7 separate regions of the Homo sapiens genome follow, and regions 1, 2, 3, 4, 6 and 7 are each linked to region 5. The links are contacts of gene promoters, found by promoter capture Hi-C in blood cells and fetal thymus (Javierre and others, 2016). All regions are on one chromosome and are shown on one strand. Each heading gives the region's core, a stretch centred on a gene start or on the middle of the fragment in contact. The rest is flanking DNA. Distances are from core to core; before and after follow the strand shown.

What was found. Contacts are between HindIII fragments. The CHiCAGO score rates a contact against its expected background, and 5 or more counts as called.
Region 1: a fragment that was not itself captured here is called in contact with the fragment with the promoter of ETS1 in region 5 in 5 of 17 cell types (total B cells, non-activated CD4 T cells, activated CD4 T cells and 2 more); the score reaches 9.1 in total B cells.
Region 2: a contact is called between a fragment that was not itself captured here and the fragment with the promoter of ETS1 in region 5, in 17 of 17 cell types (activated CD4 T cells, naive B cells, total B cells and 14 more). The highest score is 34.9, in activated CD4 T cells.
Region 3: a fragment that was not itself captured here is called in contact with the fragment with the promoter of ETS1 in region 5 in 16 of 17 cell types (activated CD4 T cells, total CD4 T cells, naive CD8 T cells and 13 more); the score reaches 32.4 in activated CD4 T cells.
Region 4: a contact is called between a fragment that was not itself captured here and the fragment with the promoter of ETS1 in region 5, in 13 of 17 cell types (activated CD4 T cells, total CD8 T cells, total B cells and 10 more). The highest score is 22.6, in activated CD4 T cells.
Region 6: a contact is called between a fragment that was not itself captured here and the fragment with the promoter of ETS1 in region 5, in 12 of 17 cell types (activated CD4 T cells, total B cells, non-activated CD4 T cells and 9 more). The highest score is 20.2, in activated CD4 T cells.
Region 7: a contact is called between a fragment that was not itself captured here and the fragment with the promoter of ETS1 in region 5, in 12 of 17 cell types (activated CD4 T cells, total CD8 T cells, naive CD8 T cells and 9 more). The highest score is 16.7, in activated CD4 T cells.

Annotation. Positions count from the first base shown.
Region 1 is chr11:128,241,579-128,244,278 of GRCh38, reverse strand. No RefSeq gene overlaps it. Among named protein-coding and RNA genes, the nearest start is that of LINC02098, 34 kb to the right of the region's middle. The HindIII fragment of the contact is 9,586 bases long and covers 1-2,700 here.
Region 2 is chr11:128,295,501-128,298,200 of GRCh38, reverse strand. LOC124902786 (a long non-coding RNA gene) reads right to left here. Exons shown (of 2, transcript XR_007062945.1): 2 at 2,052-2,700. Among named protein-coding and RNA genes, the nearest start is that of LINC02098, 88 kb to the right of the region's middle. The HindIII fragment of the contact is 2,255 bases long and covers 244-2,498 here.
Region 3 is chr11:128,195,713-128,198,412 of GRCh38, reverse strand. No RefSeq gene overlaps it. Among named protein-coding and RNA genes, the nearest start is that of LINC02098, 12 kb to the left of the region's middle. The HindIII fragment of the contact is 5,347 bases long and covers 1-2,700 here.
Region 4 is chr11:128,258,297-128,260,996 of GRCh38, reverse strand. No RefSeq gene overlaps it. Among named protein-coding and RNA genes, the nearest start is that of LINC02098, 51 kb to the right of the region's middle. The HindIII fragment of the contact is 4,926 bases long and covers 1-2,700 here.
Region 5 is chr11:128,586,271-128,588,973 of GRCh38, reverse strand. It overlaps ETS1 (ETS proto-oncogene 1, transcription factor), which reads left to right and starts at 1,416. Exons shown (of 10, transcript NM_001143820.2): 1 at 1,416-1,486. LOC105369565 (a long non-coding RNA gene) reads right to left here. Exons shown (of 5, transcript XR_948163.3): 4 at 2,014-2,634. RefSeq lists a silencer at 1,257-1,463. The HindIII fragment of the contact is 9,036 bases long and covers 68-2,703 here.
Region 6 is chr11:128,275,654-128,278,426 of GRCh38, reverse strand. No RefSeq gene overlaps it. Among named protein-coding and RNA genes, the nearest start is that of LINC02098, 68 kb to the right of the region's middle. The HindIII fragment of the contact is 4,353 bases long and covers 1-2,773 here.
Region 7 is chr11:128,220,347-128,223,046 of GRCh38, reverse strand. All of the region lies in intron 3 of LINC02098 (long intergenic non-protein coding RNA 2098), which reads right to left. Among named protein-coding and RNA genes, the nearest start is that of LINC02098, 13 kb to the right of the region's middle. The HindIII fragment of the contact is 1,156 bases long and covers 788-1,943 here.

The DNA of each region.
Region 1 (2,700 bases), core at 169-2,668, 340 kb after region 5:
GAACTCTAATTGGTCATAGTAGTACATTTAATTTATACATCCATGTGATCGATGTGCCAGGCATTTTACATATCTTATCTCAATTTAATCTTCTATACATTCTTAAAAGTTGACCTCTGAGTCAATGAAGAGCAGAGGTCTCATAGAAGGCAATTGTGCAGCCATTATTGGAACCCACATTGGAATGATTTTCATAGCTCATTTAGTCCTGACAAGCCCTGCCTCATCTCCCCTCTACTGTAAAGCTGTCCATGCTTGGCTATTTTCCATCAGGTTTTTAGTTGAACATCTTTTGCAAGTTGAAATATTATTTAGAACATTTCCTTTGATTTTAAACATACCCAGTAAAATTTGACATCTTTAGAAAGTTGAATTTTTAAAAGCCTTCTTAATTTATAGCATCTTGATTTAAAATCAAACCTTGTGAAACAACTTAAAGAGCCCATCAGTTTTACTCAGTAACGTTTGCTGAAATAAGCATAAACAAAATGTTTTCCTCTGAAGTACATGAGGGTTAAAAGTTTGTGGTAAAAGAATTCTCAAATGGAACATTGCTTGGGACCATTTTGATTGTGTTGGTGATGCTACTGGTCTTATCTTGGATGAGAGCTGGTATAAAATTGTTTAACTTTTGCTTTGAACTCTTTTAAAACTCCAAGCATAGGTTTTAAAAGAGAAATAGCTAAAGAAAGACAACTCTAAGCAAATTTGATCTTCATCCACATTTGTACACGTCAGCATTGCTAAGATGATCACATGCGTCTTCAGGAATGATGTTTACAGCCTTTGATCTAGCGTGTAAATGAAAGGGTACATTTGCACACAGCCTCCTTAGGGTCCATGATATGAATGTGTGTTTTACCTACAGACTCAGCTACTCAGAGGTCTGGTTCAGGATACTCACCTCAAAACACAAGACACTAGAGCAATGGGAGGGAGGAGAATGGTAAGGATTGGTGGCACATTATACCCTTCAAAGGATACATTTCCATCAACTCTTCAGGAAAAATACCTGGAAACATATGAGCTTTTAGTGTATGATGATTCCTTAGGTATAGGAGTCTATGTGCACATCTTGTGTGCATGGGATCTCTTTGTTTTAGTTTTGCTCCTTTTATTTGTTTATTTTTAGCCAGCTTGTGCAAATGACAATAGCAGAGAAGTTATCATAGTCTAAGGAATCATATGCAGCTGGGTTTCATTCTCAGAACCTCTACTTACTATACTTACTACCTTTTTTCTTCTTTTTTAACTTGAGTACAGTTACCTTACCTCTCCAAAACTCACTTTCATCTATAAATGTAAATAAAAATAATCTGTCTACTCCACAGGCATGTTAAAAGACTACGTGACAACAGTGTCAATTGACTGGCACATGGTAAGTGCTCAATAAATCAATTCATGGTACTTATTATACTGAGGCCTTTCCATGCTGATAACAAGAAAAATGGCATTTTCAGTTAATTTTTTCTTAAATGTAATGAACTATAATAAAATGTAACTTAATGTGCTGAAATCTGCCCAATCTCTTCTGATACCCATGCATTACAGTACTGAAACACAATTGCCAAGCTACTACAACTGTTTTTGCAACACTGTATTTTATTTTAAAATGATAAACATGCTTGGCCAGCCAAAACACATAATTGTGAGTTACTGGATTTATTTTTTCAGTGTAGGATTTCAGTTTATTGGGAAACTAGAAGTTGTCACATTAAAAGTAAATTGTACACAAACAAATATGCAGTAATATAGTTCTGTGATTTCTTTTTTTTTTTTTGTGAGAGAGGAAGAGGAGAGGGTCTTGCTCTGTTGCACGTGCTGGAGTGCAGTGGCATGTTCACGGCTTACTATAACCTCCACCTTCTGGACTCAAGCCGTCCTCCCAGCCTCCTGAGTAGCCGGGACTACAGGCGTATGCCATCACGCCTGGCTAACTTTTGTAGTTTTTTGTAGGGACGGGGGGTTTCCCCATGTTGCCCAGGCTAACTCCAGGGCTCTAGTGATCCACCTGCATTGGCCTTCCAAAGTGCTGGGATTACCGGCATGAGCCACCACACTCGGCCGGTTTGTGGTATCTTGAACTCCTGAATTAAAGATTCATGAATATAAAGGATCCCAAATCTCTGCTTAGGGATTTTTTTTTTTTTTTTTTTTTTTTTTTTTTTGAGACGGAGTCTCGCTCTGTTGCCCAGGCTGGAGTGCAGTGGCGCTGTCTCAGCTCACTGCAAGCTCCGCCTCCCGGGTTCACACCATTCTCCTGTCTCAGCCTCCCAAGTAGCTGAGACTACAGGCACCCACGACCAAGCCCGGCTAATTTTTTGTATTTTTAGTAGAGACGGGGTTTCACTGTGTTAGCCAGGATGGTCTCGATCTCCTGACCTCATGATCCACCAGCCTCGGCCTTCGAAAGTGCTGGAATTACAGGTGTGAGCCACCGCGCCCGCCCAGGGATCTTTGTAACTGACATTAAAACGTAAATACTGATGTTCACATTAAGGAGCGTTTTGGCATATCATCATTACTAATGTATATTTTGCCCTTTGATTTGAAATCAATGAGTTGGAAAAGCATTTGTGTGTCTCACAGGGTATCTATAACAGCATGGATTAACATTTTGGGGTAAAACAAGTATGGAACAGTTTTTATGAGTTCTTTTTTCCTGTTAACTAATATTCACATCAGTGAAAACTTTGAATT
Region 2 (2,700 bases), core at 122-2,621, 290 kb after region 5:
AAAAATGAAAGGCAAATCAGAGGAGTAACGCCTTTGTGAACAGGCAAATGTCCCTTTCCACGACACTAAAAGCTCTAACCTTCCCATTTGCCCTTTTTCAGGAGACAATCATTCTAGTTTCATGCCCTTTATCATCTTAGTTGTTCCTACTGAGTGAAAAGTCATCTGGCGAGGTTTGCAACCTAGTACATTTCCTAAGAGGCTTTGTTCATGACAAGGCTGCTTTACTAATCTCAGGAAGCTTCAAGTTTTCTCAAATTTCCAGTTGTAAGTGAAAAATGTACTGGATTGTCTCCCTTTTATATGTTAAAATAATGAGGCATTATTTCAGCACCACCCTTCCCTGTTTCTTTGTTCTAAAAATATAACTCAAGGATTCTGCCAGGTGTTAATTAATCTTCATTAGTCTCTGGAGGGCAGGCAAAGACCTAAGAATTGAGAAATTAAAGCACAAATGTTTAAACAATTAGTATAGAGACTTATCCAAGGTCACCAAATGAGTAACAGAGAAAACGCAGAATCCATGGCTTTCTGATCTTGTCCCCAAAATCCCCCAGGAGAACCATCTTGCATAAATACTTGCATGGCCAACATTTGTAAGAGCAGATGTTTTATCAAGCCAGCTGTACAGCAAGGCCCACCCTTGCCTATCTATTCCTATCTGCTTTTATTATGCTTTGGGGCTCTCGCATGATAAGACCTCCCATATGGTACTTGTATTAACATTAAATAATGGCCATTGTATTGTGTATACTATCACCATAGAAATATTTACTTAGTTGAACACAGACACCGGTCAAGCATGGTGATTAAAAACAAGCTAATCATAAAAACCATTCATGCTCACATCTATTTATAAAATCTGTTTCACTTGTGCCAGTTAAGTATAGGCTTTGTTCTAAACAAACACACGCAAACCTTCTGCACACCCAGAACCATGAAAGGCACCCCTCCTCCCTCTGCAGAAAGCCAGGCTGTGGGGAATGGCCCTATGTGAAGCATCAAGCGTGTGTCTGAGGCTCAACTAGGCTCCTCTGCAGCTGGAGCTGGGCCTGCTGTTGACTTTTACTTTCTTGCTCCTTCATCTCCTCACACTGACACCCTGCCTGGGGTCTCTCAGCCCTCTCATTCTCAAACTACGGTGAGCTCAAAGGCAGCTGGGGTTTTTGTAGTAACTGCAGATACTCCAGATCCACTCATGAGATCTTGTTTGAACTGCTCTGGATGAAATCTAAGATATGATATTCTCAGGAAACACTCAGGTGGTTCTGGTCTTGGGGTCCACATTCTCCACTTGAGAAACGGCCTCTCTAGGGGCATTTCTTGGGACCTCTTGCCTCCTGCCACTCCTTGCCCACAGCAGTCATTGTGGGGTCATCGCTGACACTGCCGAGGGCTGCCTTTAATGCCCTTAAATTTTATTTCAATGGACACCAGTGTTTGTTATAAATGTGTTCCTTAAGTCGTGTGCAGTAAAGTGCATGAGAGCCTGGGCTTTGGAGTCAGAGAATTTGAGCTTTGCTTTGCACTTTGCTGATCATGTGGCCTGGTAAAAACTGTCTAACTCTTTGAGTCCCCATTTTTTTTTTTAACATTTAAAATGGGAATGATAATAGGACTTGCCTCACTGAGGTGATGTAAGGGTGGTGACAATAATACACTTAGAGGATGCAGTGCCTGGCACACCATTTAGGCTACCAACATCACCAGTTGGGAAATAAATTGAGTTGAACTGAGTGGTCCTTTTGGATCAAGGTATTAGAAAATGCCACCTCAGGAAATGTGATGTAAAGAAAAAGACAGAGATGACCTGAATTTGATACCCAGCTCTGCTACCAGAAGGCTGAGTGGCTTTGGCCACATCCTTCTTCCCCTCTGGAAGAAGTTTATAAGATGTTATCTATGAAATTAGGGGACAGGTCCAGAGCAGTGGTTTCCAAACATTATGAACAGGGAAATCCCTTCCAAATATCAATACAGTCATAAAACATACTATAGTTTTTATACTCATGATGGCTCATTGACACTTAATAGCAAAAGGATTTTATGTATTTTGTAATTTTAAAAAATGAATTTACCTTTATTAATTCCAGTCTCATTTACATTTATTTGGGAAATAGTCCTGCTGGTTTTGTATTTTGTATAAGTGGTATTATTTCTAAGACAACAACATTAGGCGAATCGTGAAAGAACTCCACTGCCCCTGGTAGTCACAGACTTTCAGAGTGGGAGCCCCTGGTCCAGACCATTGGTTTTTTATAGATCCCTCCTGTTAACAAAGGCAGTTGTGGAAACTCAAACTCTGAAACAGACACTCTCAGAACTGTTCTGGAAATAGGAGCTGAGGGCCTAATTTAGTTGTCTTCTTTCTCTTCCCTCACTCCTCATCTTCAGCCAGGAAAGATCTGCAAGGCAGTTTTGTTAATTTCCTAGTAACTGAGCACCTCCTGTAGGCAGGCACAGTGCTAGATGCATAGGTTATGTCAGAGAACAAAGCTTCATGCCATCGGGGGCTTCTTTCTAGTGGCCGCGTGCCTCTGAGGTCACTGGCCTGACTTGTCTCCATGTTGGCTCTTACTGTCTGATGCTAGATTCCTGGGCAGACCCAGGATAAATAAGTGAAGCTTGCCTTTGGTCACTGGCTCCTCTTTTGCCTCCTTCTTTTCTGTTTTTTATTGTTTCTTTCTCCACCTAGGTCAC
Region 3 (2,700 bases), core at 121-2,620, 390 kb after region 5:
TTCAGCTGGAAACATCTGCAGGACCATAAATCCTTTCTTGCATAATTTTTTTTCCTGTTAAATTAAGTCCCCCCTTTCTGTTAGTAATTTTACTCATTGAAAAAAAATGTGCTCTGGAGAGTGACAGTCATGAACATAGATGGAACAGAATATTAAATTACAGAATAAAATATTGAAATAAGACAATTATTGGATAATTAGGGCAAAAACTCAATGTATTTATAACTTTCAGGTAATCAGAGCTAAAAAAGCATAATACAATCAAATCAGTTTTTAACATATAGATAGTACCTCTTATTTTTGTTATAGTTTCCAATAAAATCTCCCAGTAGCACAAATTATTGATAGTAAAATCATTGATTAGTGACAGTAGATAAATAACTCGTAATTTTCATCTGACAGCTATTTGATACAACCATGCAGGAATATCATTTTATCATAAGAATATCAAATTATTTGACATATTAATAGTAATATAACATAGTCATATAATAATATAATAGGATTAATTTATCACAATACACTTATGTCTTATAATACATAATGCCAAATGACTTTATGGTAGTAGGGCATCCATTTCACTGATGACTCTCATCCTCCATCTAATTTATGTCTTAGAACAAAAAGAATGCTAATCATCCTTGGGTAGAGTAATTGATTAAGTACTGATTGAGTTTCACTGAAGGCTAACTTATTTTTTAAGGCCCCTAAATATGATGGTGCTATAGGGAGTGCTATTGAAGTGACTTACTGTCCAACAATCAAGAATAAGCATAATTACTGAACCCTCTCCCCCCAATAGCTTTATGATTTTGGAGAAGACAGAAGATGAAGTAGGGAAATATCTCTGGAACAGCATTTATTAAAAGTGAACTTTAGAGATCATTTGCATCTGGATTATCCGTAGGGTATCTCAGAATACCCTACGGATATCTCGCAGAATCTGAGACTGAGATGTAGACTCCATCTTTGGGCATGGCTTGGATCTGTACTTTTCACAAGCTACTTAGGAGACTCTTTGGTACATTAATATTTGAGAATTTCTGACCTAGAAAGTCATGAAATTGGGGAAAACAGGTTTATTAAGCCTGTAATTCATTAATACTGTGAAATGCTTCCTGGAACCACTAGCATTGATTAGTAAACACAAACACCATGGGGCTGCCAATATCTAACTGAAGATCTAATAGGGAAGGTAAGAATGGTACCATTTCTATTAGCACTATTACACCCTCTACCAGTCCCATTTGGTAAATGCTGTCCAGAAAACTCAAATCCTGGGGAAAGTAGGCATTATTACATTTAATCTCACTTCTTAAAATCACTGGGCAAAGTAATTTGGAATTAGTTATACTCTGGAGTGCAGATCTCTTTATTTGGTTCTTATGTTTTTGAAGTCCAATATTCAGATAGATTCCTTTTTCCACCCTCTCCCTATAAAGAATTCAAATCCTAAAGAAATGTGGAACACATTTCTTCCCAGCCTAATGAAAAACAGAATCTTTTACAAATTGTGAATCCACATGTGGGAACTCAGGAGTTTGTATACCGATGTGTGTGAATGTATGATTGTGCAAAGAATTAGACTCCGTTGCGAACACCATCTCAACAGTTCTGCTCACCAAGATCCCTAAGGCCTTACTTAACATTGCATTTTTAATTTACATTACCATTAAAACCTTTTATTGTGTTGTTTAATTCAAGAAGGTCGCTGAATCCATCAAAGTTTCTCATAGATTGACACATGCTCTGGCAATCCATGGAAGTGTCCTTCATGAAGGTTTTCATTACTTTGTGTTTCTGTTATTATCTGCAGACATCTTTCTGTAGTCTGTGATACATTAGGAGTTCAAAAAGAGAAGGTGGCTGCAAGTGTGCTTTACAGTTTGACCAGATGTGTAGCCAGTGTCATGAAATACATCCAATTATACTATAAATAGAGGGCAGAGGCTTACTATTTACCACTTGGTGATTAATAAAATGTGCAGAATGCTGAGACATATCTCACTCCCTATTACTCAATTACTATAACCACTCTTCTTCCAGAAAAAGACAAGTCTTGCAGATGTTAGAGAATGGATTTCATAATGGAAGTCTCTTTAAAATAGCCTGAAAAAAATGGAGCTTAGATTGCAAACCAGAAGAGGCTGGATTTTTCCTCTTTTTTTCCAAAAGTAATAAAACTGCAGACAATAAAGATATTCAAATAAATAAAACAAATCTCTGATTTCACTAAATATTCTCTAAAACTGAAGGTAGAAACCTACACATACATTGTGAAAAATTTGCTCTTGCAATTGGGCTACAGAATGTCCTATAAAATTTACAGCAAAAAATATATTAATCTGTAGTTGTTAAGAAAATTACCTGTCTTATGTGAAAAGTTTTCTATTTTCTTTCTCCCTGTGGTTTCAGGTTTAGACAGTAAGGACGTTTCTCTATTTGAATTTCATGTAGGCTCATATCCAGTAGAAGGTGAATCATGTCTCATATCATGTGGGAGAGCTAGTAAGTTAATTAAAGTGGTTAAGAACTTGGAGAGGGCAAGAAAAAATAATATATATATATATTTTTTATATACAATATATTTATTTTAAATATATACATATATATATATAAATGTAAATATACATATATTTATCTGATAGATACTGGAAATTAAAAATCCAGAGAAATATATGTTGCATTTTTGGGTGGCTG
Region 4 (2,700 bases), core at 110-2,609, 330 kb after region 5:
ATCTCATTGCTTCTGGTTAAGATCTTCCATATGTAATTTGAATTCTACATTTTCGGAGTAAGCTCAGATCATGTTAATTTTGCTTTTGCTCTAGAATATTTTCTGTTTCCTATTTATGTGAGGAAACATTATAGCAGAATGTCCACATTCTAGACCTAAAGTATCTCCTAGCTGGTATGCCACAGTGGCTCATTTTCAAGGAGCTGAGTTACAGATAGGAAAAATATTGCCTGACTATTACACCTTTCTCGAAAAAGCTAAGCATACCCTTCCTGGCCCTGTTTTTGTGGGAATGCAGCAGCTCATATGAATATCATTAGAAAAAGAATAAACTCTCTCTACATCCCTTTCACTCTCATGGCATTAAGCAAGATCAGGCCTTGATTATAAGGCACGTGGGCTTTTGTCCAAGGAGCAAATTAAATAAGTGACCTTTTCAAGGAAAAAGAGGAATACTGTAGTACTCAATGATATCATAGTTTCTGAGAGCAGCCTGAGATCAAAAGTAAAGGCGGATTTTGAGGAAAAAATGATGCAATGAATGTGTGAATAAAAGTAGTCAGAAATTTGATCTAAGGTTTCAGATAGTAAATCAAAATAATTTATTTGAGTCTCTACATGATCTCTCTCTCTCTCTTTCTCTTCTGTTGGAATTAGATACTTGGATTTCATTAGTTATTTTATTTTCTTGTTTACTCTGTGGCCTTTCCCTGTAGCAGGAACACTCAAGCTATTCAAAGGAGAAGAAGCCAAATAAATCAAATTCTTTAAGTCACAGCTTAGAGATACTTGCTGGTTCCTGTAGACCTTGAATCTCCAGAAAGATCTGGGATAATTTAAATGTGAGAGTAAGAGAGATTTAGAACTTTGCAACCATAAAACTTATATTTGACTGAAGATATGGGCCAGTGGATACAACTTCCTGAGGAATATAAATATGCCAAATATGCAAAAGAATATTTGATCACCCATGACTGGAGGAAAGCTACTAAGTGACTCTGCCAGGCCATACTGTTGACTTATTTGTAAAAGGAGGAGGCTGAAAATATGAAAGACACCTTTAGAAGTAAGTGAGAGCCAAGAAAATACAACAAGAGAGGAACGTATTCTCATCCACTGACTCCCATAGCACACAGACTTTGGAGTCAAAGGGTTGAGGGCTGTGTGACCTTCTCATAGTTGTTAACTGTTCTGAGCCTTCGCTAACATGATTGAGAATGAAAATCATCATAGACTGGTTTCAGTGTATTGTTGGTGCCCCAAAGCAACAGAATTCTGGGTGTACACAGGCTGCTAGATGTGCCCAAGTGTGAGCGTGCTGGAAGTTAGAAAGCTGATGAAACATTTTAATCTGAGCTTTGTGCCTTGAATGAACTCTGTGTTCCTCCTGGTAGCCTACTTTACCCTAGGAATCAAAATAGAGCTTTGAACCATTTTCTTTATAAACTGTCCTCCTAACCCCCATCCCCTGCAGTTCCCACACACACTGAGGCCAGCTTTGGCCCACTTTGCCTTTCCCAGGCTTCAGGAGCCCAAGAGACACTAAAACCTGGATTTGTTGGAGTCGTCTATCCTGCAATTTCCCCAAACACATACTGAATAAAGAACTCTAAAACTAGTTTTCATGGGCTATTTGTTCTGTCTTCCCCCAATCTCTTTATACTTAAATTATGACTGAAGTCAGCTCCAAAGTACTTAAGTGCCAGTGATTTTGCTATTCGTATGCTATGTTTCTATTGACTTTAAAACTAATCTGATCATTCAAAAAGCTGCCAAACCCAGCCCAGAGGAATAAAGAAATAAGAGGCAACCTTTAAATAGGGGAGGGTGGGCATCCATGGCTGCCGGTTAAGAGAGCACTTCCCCCAGGTGTGACTATATTAAAGCCATATTTCACTTTAATGGGGAAAGACTGGAGGGGAATTGGGAGAAGGTGACCCCTCCTGACGCATGGGATTCCATTTGGGCTAATAAAAGACCACTTAGCTATGAGGGCTCATTACAATTAAATTGTCTCTAAACAGTTGCTTGCTTGGTAAACTTCAAAAGTGGAACAGCTGGGGCATATGTAGGTTGGGGGGCTGAGGTCTGTCCCTGCCCTGGAGCCAGCAGTGGATTTCAGGGGCCCTTGTAAATCTAACTGCATAGGAGGTGCTGTTGAATGTCCTTGTAGTCTGTTTCTCTCAGCAGAGGACTCCAAGCCAAGTACCAAATCTGCCCCAAACCTAATATAAACTTTTTCCTTTCTCATGCTACCCTATTCTAGTTTGGTTTCAAGGTAATATTACCCTTGTTAAATGATTTGGGGATAGTTCCCTCCTTTTCTAGTTCCTGATACGATTTATAAAATAGAGACTGTTTATTACTGGATAGTTAAATTGAACTTGCTATAAAACCTTAACACAGTGACTTTGTTTATAGACTTTTATTTTTAATGTAAAATTGGAGAAGTTTTGATATATGTGTATACTTGTGAGGGCATGAGCATGATTAAGATAGTGAAAGCATCTGTAATCTCCCCAAATTTGCCCTCGTCCCTTTGTAATTTATCTTTCTAGCTTCTCAAATCTCTACCCTAACCTAGGCCCCAGAGGACCATTAATCTATTTTCTATCATAGTTTGCATTTCAATTATACATGCATTATAGACTTTATGTTATATTTTTATTTGTCTGTTTAAACAACCAATTATCTTTTAAA
Region 5 (2,703 bases), core at 167-2,666:
TGACCGTGGGCTCTTTAAATGGGGCAGTGTGCTGAAATTGACTGGGTTACAGGGGCAGGCTGAAGCTTCCCTAGCTCTCTTCATAGACTTCTTTTGTAGCATGTATTACATTTTTGGGGGGAGATCGTTGATTTATGTGTCTGTCTCCTCACTACAATGCAAACTTGCTATCTTTCTAGTGCCTAGAACAGTGCCTGGCACAGGCAATTTATTAAACTAAAGTGAACCAATAGCATTACCTCTTCCTTACTTCCAAGTTAATGTGCAAAGGCAGAAGATGAGCAGTAAAATCTTGCTTTACTTACAATGTCATCTTAACTGCATTGCCAGCTTTATACAATGAAGGCTGATGATGATATGGCTCCAAATGACAGTTATTAGATTTTCAAGGATTTTCTAAGTTTGTATCTTTATTAAAAAGAGAAAGAAGCCAACTATGACAAATCTTAACTCCCACCTCCTACTCAAAGAAGATGGAATCTTTTAGGATAAAAGTCTTAGATTAAGCAGCCAAATACTGACTTCTCAAAAAAAATTGTAATAACTCCATTCATAGAAATGAGATTATGCTGTAACATTCTTACCATAGTCCTGAATATGTGAATAAAAGATGCTGTGTATTTTCACTTAGGACAGATGTAAGATTTTCATATTGTTTACATTTTCCCTAAATGAGAAATGTATGAACACTTCTGCCCTTTTATTCCTGCACCACGGACCATGAGTCAGGGCTGCTAAAAGTATCCTTATTTTAGAGATTGCCTAAAACCAGACTTATATGAAAAGGGGATTTTTAGCTTTACTTTTCAGAAATCCCAAGTCCATATCCAGTCAGCTCTCTTCCACAAAATTATTTTCTTTTCTTTAGAAAATATCACATTTCATATCAAGTTATTAGAGAGAAACGGGAAGCCTGAGCAGGTGACTGGGTGGTGGACGTCCTGTGTTTCTAAAGCAATCCCTTTCCCTCACCTGAGACCTTGCCTAGGTTAATGGGGGCTCCATTGAGAAAGTCAAGGAACATGAAGCATGAATATTTACATATTCAGCAGAGAGTAAATGCATCAGCAAATGATGAGGTGAGATACAGTGTTATCCCACTGAACTAGTTCCCTTTTGCTCATCTCCCTCCCTGTTACTCTCCAAGGCTGAGTTATATTCAGCTGAAGCACAATTTGAAGAATACGAAATAATGTGTGATTTGGTGCCACCACTGTCAATCAACAGTGCTTTCCACCTAGACTGCTGTGCCTGTGCCAGTGGCTGCTGTCCTGGTGCCAGGGGCAAGAGGAAGACTGCCTTTTTTCCAGCTTTCCCTGGCTTGACCACACCCCCCAATTTAAGGAGGCAGCTCTATTAGAAACATTATGGTCTTTGCATCCTCTTAAGCTACGGAGCAGAGGATTCCCGCAGGTAGTTGGAAAGAGACCACAGACTTTGAGGGAAGCTCACTCAGGATCTGCTCTCCGGCAAAGTAGTAAGTGAGGTGTGTGTCAGTTTCTGCCTAAAACTTTTCAGTCCATTTTCCTTTTCCTGCTTTAAAAAAATTTCTGTGGAATTAAAGAGTAAGTCGGTAGGGAGATTCAGGATACAAGTGAGTTTTCTCTTTCTCTTTTCACGTCTTTCTATATTCCCATTTAATTGTTTAACAATTTTCAAAAATACTTCCTAACCTCGTCAGAATAGTCTGAAAGCAAGACTATGTTTTTAAAAATGTTCCCTGCTTCACAAAAGTAAAACCATGCACGTTTTAGATACCCGTAGATTACTTGTCAGAAACCCTGATTTTTTTTTTTTTTTTTTGCAAATTGGAGCACTTCCAAAGAAATAAAGCTGTAGTTAAATATATAAATTTCTTTTTATTCTCTTTCACTCCTAGTAAATCTATTGTTTTACTTTTTTCTCCTGCTAGTAGTTTAATGAATTGCTTTTAATAGAGAGGAAATTGCTACAGGTTTGAATCTTGCTAGCCAAACTAGCCTGTTTGGTGTTTTTCTCTGTCTTGGGACTGACCTGCAGTTGTCCAAAGATCTACAAGTTCCTAAGTCTGTTGTTGAGACATGGTGTGGGTGTGGGCCGCGGTTGTCTCAGAGTTAGGGAGGTATTTCTTGTCCCCACGGTAGAGCTGGACTCAGTGGCAGGAGATGTCGATGGCAATTCCTCTGCATCCGGTGATTTTATCTGGCCGTGACACTTTGTATGTGACTCCTCACCCACCGTTAAAGGTCTCTGTTACCAACTTTTAAAGTAGTATTTTCTTCAGGCAAACTTAAAAGGGTGCTGGGTCACTGAAATCAATGCATTCTATTGCAGGATTTCTTTATCACCTTTTGGGTAAGTTTTTGTTTTTAATCTCAAGTCCATTTTCCTTCTTACTTTAGACCACTGCCATGCAACTGAGAAAAAAGTATTTGTTAAACAGCAGGAAATACCAATTCTAAAATGATAACTCCATCAGCTCCATTTGATTTGTAAAATTACTGATACTATAACTCTTTCATCAGTTGTGGTTTTGGGTTTGGTGGCCTATTTTTATCCAAAGAGAAAACGCTTTTTCTTCAGGGGCCGTGGGCTGTGCACAAGGGCTGCAGGGTGGCCACTGCTGCTGTTGAGAGTCTTGCTCACCTGTTGTTCCTGAATGGAGGGAAGGGAGAGCTAATGGGTTAATGTCTGCAAAGTGCTTTGAAGATGAAAAGGTCTTTT
Region 6 (2,773 bases), core at 17-2,516, 310 kb after region 5:
CAAACTGACTAAAGACATGAAGAAAAATATTCAAGAAACTCAGCAAGCCCTATTCATAATATTCTATGCCATGGTATTATAACTTCTGTAAAGCAAAGACCAAGAGAAAATTTCAAAAGCAGACAGATTACAAATATGTGCATTATCTTTAAGGGAACAGCCTTAAGGACAATGGTGAACATGCCAACTGAACTATAAAATCCAGATGACAATAAAATAAGACCTCTAAAGTGCTGAAAGGAAAAACAAAAACAAAACCCTTGCTATTCAGAATTCTCAACTTAGTAAAAATATACTTTAAAAATGAAGGTGAATAAAATTCTAGCAGACACACAAATTAACTAAAGAAACTCTTTCCAGATAAACATTCAGTGCCCTAAGTTGGCAGAGAGCTTACAACACACAAACCTCAAACGAATATGCATACAGGAATAATGGGAACTCAGGAATAAATCTATGGATGGATGCACAAAGAGGTCTTAATGTCACCCTGGTCTTAAATAAGACCCCAGAGCCTCAGCATAACCCAGAAGATTGAAGGAAACCCCAACAATGACTCATGCTGATTCTCCACCTCTCTGGTGGGATGGATCTTTGGAGTGAAAATAGTATTTACTAGATAAAATAGCCTTTTTGCCCTCTACAGGGTACCATTTACTGAAAAGAATTGCTGAAGTCCAGATCTCTTTTTCCTGAAACCAAGATTTTCACCATAGTGAAAGTGATTAGTAATTTGTTATATTAGTTATTCCTCCACAGACACACATCTTTTATGTTTTTTGATAAACCTAAAATTATTTTTGATTTCTGATAAACTGGTAAAATTATTAAAAAGAACAAGATTGTGGGAAGGGCTCTGCGACAAACCATTGGGCAACCATAGACATTTACTATGTGATCTAGGTTGTTACAGCAACAAAAAGCACTTGGGTACGAATCCACATAAATGTGTTTTTAACTGTTCTAGATGAACCTGGAATCAATGGAGAAATGTACCATGTTTCTGGGAATAAAGATTAAATATCTCAAATATATCAAATCCATATATTAATTTATGGATATATAGTATGATTCCAAAAACATTCAGCCTAAGGCTTTTTGTATTAAAAAATTATTTAAAAATAATTTGATGAAATAATTAAAGAAGATTTTTGAAAAAGAGGAATAACCAGAATTCACCAACTCTATCAAATATTAAGATTTATCTAAAGCAGTAATACTTAAAGTAGTATGGAATTGGTGAAAACACAAGTGTACTTACAACTTCAGGCAAGGTGGCTTAATAAGTAAATACTTTGAGATTCCCCGCTTCTGCTCCAAAATTATTGAATTAATAGATAAATCATAACAATAGAAAAATTAAAATGTTAGCTTTCTCAAAAACAAAATGAACAGACCAAAAATTTGTGTGAATGAAAGACACGCCAATGATAAAGAGAATATTTTAAAAGAAGCCAGAGAAAAAGACACATTACCTATAGGGAAAAAACCATAAGAATGACTGCGAAATTCTCATCAGAAATAATGCAAGCCAAAACATAGTGATCCACATTTTTAGTGTTGGAAGAAAAAAAAAAACTTGTCGTGTAACAATTCCATATCAATCAAAACTATCATTCAGAAACAAAGGCAAATAAAGGTGTCTTCAAACAAACAAACAAAAAATGCTGAGAAAATTAATCACCAGCAGACCTGTACTGAAAGGAATATCAAAGGAAGTTCTTCCAGCTGAAGAAGAATGATATTCATTGGAATCACAGATTTGCATGAAGGATTGAAGAGTGCCAGGGATGAAAGTTTACAGTGCAAATGTAGACATGGCTCAAATTCACAAGGGTAAATACCTTACCCAGGAAAACTCTCAGCTGTGTGCTGTTGTAATGAAAAGAGAGGACATTGAGAGAGTGACAGGGCACACTTAATCCTGTGCGATTCCAAGAAGAAAAACCAGCATGAATGCAATGTTTTTTGCCTCACATCATTGACAATGCTTAGAACACACTGGGATTCCCGACATTGTCAGATTGTATACATTTAGTCAATTTAGTGGATGTGAAATCATATGTAATTATGGTTTATTTTACAATTCTATCATTCTAGTGAAATTGGCATCCATTAAAATATTTGTTAGCTATTTATTTCTTCTTCTCAGAAGAGCTAGTTTATCTCTTTTACTCATTTTTCTATTGGTCTATCTTTTTTCTGAATGATTCATAGAAATTCTTTTGTTAGGTTGAACCATAAGAAATAGCAATATTCGATCATTTTAGATAGACAAAGGAGGCAATTTCATATGGTTCAATGTAATCTATTTTGGGAAAAAGTCTCTTTTTGGTTATATGTGTTTTAAACATTTCCAAGTTTATGGCTTATCTTTCCTCTCTACTCATGGCCTCTTTGATGAATATGTTTAAATTTTAATGTAGGCAAACATATTAATATTGTCTTATAGATTTCCAGATTATGTGTCTTAAAAATTATCTTCAACCCTGTGATAATAAGAATATTCTCCAATGTTTAAAGATTTTAAGCTCTGACTTTCAAATTTAAACTTTTAAGAAACGTGGAATCTATTTTAATGTATGGTATCAATTAGATATCCAATTTTATTTTCTCCTTTATAAAAAAGCAATTACCTTAGCCTCATTTATTGAATTATCCAAACTTTCTCACTGATCTGTAACATAATTTTAGTTATATTTAAGTGTTTATATATGTGTTCTGGAGTTCTGTTCCATTGTCTGTTCCTTGGCCAATTATCTTAATGATTTTG
Region 7 (2,700 bases), core at 116-2,615, 370 kb after region 5:
TCAGGAAATACAGCTTATGCATGCTGGGCTTAATAACTAGGTGATGGGGTGACGGGTGCAGCAAATCACCATGGCACGCATTTACCTATGTAACAAACCTGCACATCCTGCACATGCACCCAATAACTTAAAATTTAAAAAAGAGAAAGAAATCACAGCCAGTTCTCATTTGTGCTGAGGGGAATTCAGCAGGGGTAACCAAGCAGAAGCCAGGGCTCCCTGCTGAAGCCACAGTGCAGGTGTTAAATGTTTGGTGATTGCCCTAGTAATGCACTGTGTGGAGAGGCTAAAAACTGCTTTCTCCTTTGAGATCTCCTTGATGCCTTATCTTTCCAGGCTAAGTCAATCCCCCATTTCCTCCGAAATGTGTGTGATATTCTGAAGTGGAAATACTCTGAATTCCAGTTGCAGCTAAGGGCTTACTTGAGCATAGAAGAGGTTAAGTCTTCCGACTTAGGTCTCCTTTGTGGCTATTTGAAAAAATTCAGAGATGAGGATCTCCTTGGGTTCAGGAGATTGGTTTCCCAGGGGGACACCCAGAATCAGATTCCTGCACTGAGCAGACTTTGCATGGCTTCCCATGACCTGCTGCTATCTCAAGAATTTTTAAGTACTCAGAGAATGCCTTCTTGTTTATAGTGAAAAATAATTCAAGGTTTGAGGGATTTATTACTCAAGGCTGAAGGATAAACCTCTGCATTCTTCATTTCGGACCAAGGTGGCTCTCCCTAGAGGCTCTCAGCACCCTTGTTTCTTCTGGGCCGCACACTTCTTTTTTCAATAAGCTTCCGAGGCAGATAAGAAGAGGTGACCTCTGTCTCTACCCACTCTTCTGAAAGGTGGAGTCCACAGAACAAGTCTTGCATTTATATGAAATTGAAATCATTCATTGTTTAAAAGGCATTTATTGAGCATCTGCTGTGTGCAAAATATTGTTCTTTATGTTGTGAAAAATACAAAAAATAAAAACCCAAAACAGAAAACGACCAATCAGAATACATTATCTCTTTCCTCAAGGAGACAATACAGGAGAGAGGAAAAAGATGAATAATGTTACATCTCAAGCCAAAAGCCTGGACACTACCTTGTGAACTCCAAGGGAGACATTCAAGGGTGTGGAGAAAGCCCAAACATGCGAAGGCAGAATGTATACTTTATTTATCTCTGGGGTAAACAAAGACATGGAGGCAAAGATATTTTGTAGGATAGTTCAGGCTGAGTCCACAGCACACATGTTGTGGAGTGCTGGGAAATGAGATTGAAGGTGGAAATGGTAGACTGAGGCTATGCTGTGGCATGTTTTGGATACAGAATAATACTGTCCTGCCCAAAATCAGCATTCTTTGATTGCATGAAGAAAGTGGAATTTTATGATTAATCTGGTGCAGTTAGTAGGAAATCAGAAATAGGAAACTGACGCAGCATGGTCAGTGATGATAATTTTAATACACGTATTAACTGGTTAATCTTCCTAAGTCATTTATAATATATAGGGAAGACATTGTCTACACTTTACAGATGAATACATTGAAGGTCAGAGGGGTTAAATGACTTGTTAAAAGTTACACATAAGAGCCGGGTGCGGTGGCTCACGCCTGTAATCCCAGCACTTTGGGAGGCTGAGGTGGGCGGATTGCCTGAGGTCAGGAGTTCAAGGCCAGCCTGGCCAACATGGTGAAACCCCATCTCTACTAAAAATACAAAAAACAAAAAAAATTAGCCTGGTGTGGTGGCACACGCCTGTAATCCCAGTTACTCAGGAGGCTGAGGCAGGAGAATTGCTTGAGCCCGGGAGGTGGAGGTTGCAGTGAGCTGAGTTCATGCCACTGCACTCCAGCCTGGCCTACAGAGTGGGACTCTGTCTAAAAAAACAAACAAACAAACAAACAAAAACAAAAGTTACACATAAGATAAAAGGACCAGCCTTCACTTAGACCCAAGCTTCTTTACTCTCTGTGTGTCTTTGGTATTCCAAGTCCATCTTGTTCCAGAAACAACTAATCAGACCTCTTCTAAAATGTTCTGTAAAATTTAAGTTTTTGCAAACATAAGGTGGCTCTTGATCCACAGAGGTGGGAGGTGGGCATAATTATGCAAGATATCTTTGCAGAGATTTTTTAAAAGCAGAGGAAATATATGCTGACTTTCTAAATTCCACCTTTTTATTTTTTAGGCAAGGTCTAATTCTGTCGCCGAGGCTGGAGTGCAGTTATATAGCTCTCTGTAGCCTTAACCTCCTGGGCTCAAGTTATCCTCCCACCTCAGCCTCCCGAGTAGCTGGGACCATAGGCTTGCACCGCCATGCTGGCTAACGTTTGCATTTTTTGTAGAGATGGGGCCTTAGCATGTTGCCTGGGCTGATCTCTTATTCCTGGACTCAAATGATCCTCCTGCCTTGGACTCCCAAAGTGCTGGGATTACAGGTGTGAGCCACTGTTCCCAGCCTAAATTCCACTTCTTGAATAGTCCTGTCCATTTCAGTGTCTTGTGATGAAGAGATTTTATTTGAAGACTAGTGAAAATATAGCGAAATTCATTCAGTGCTGAGATACTCCCTGCTAGTGAGTAATTTATAAAGGCAAGTTATTTTTCTTAGGCGAATAGGATGTGACTGAACAATTATTATAACACTTCTGTGTTCATAGATCCAAAGCTACAGCTTTTCTTATTGCTAGAGGTGGGATGTCACATCGTTGTAAC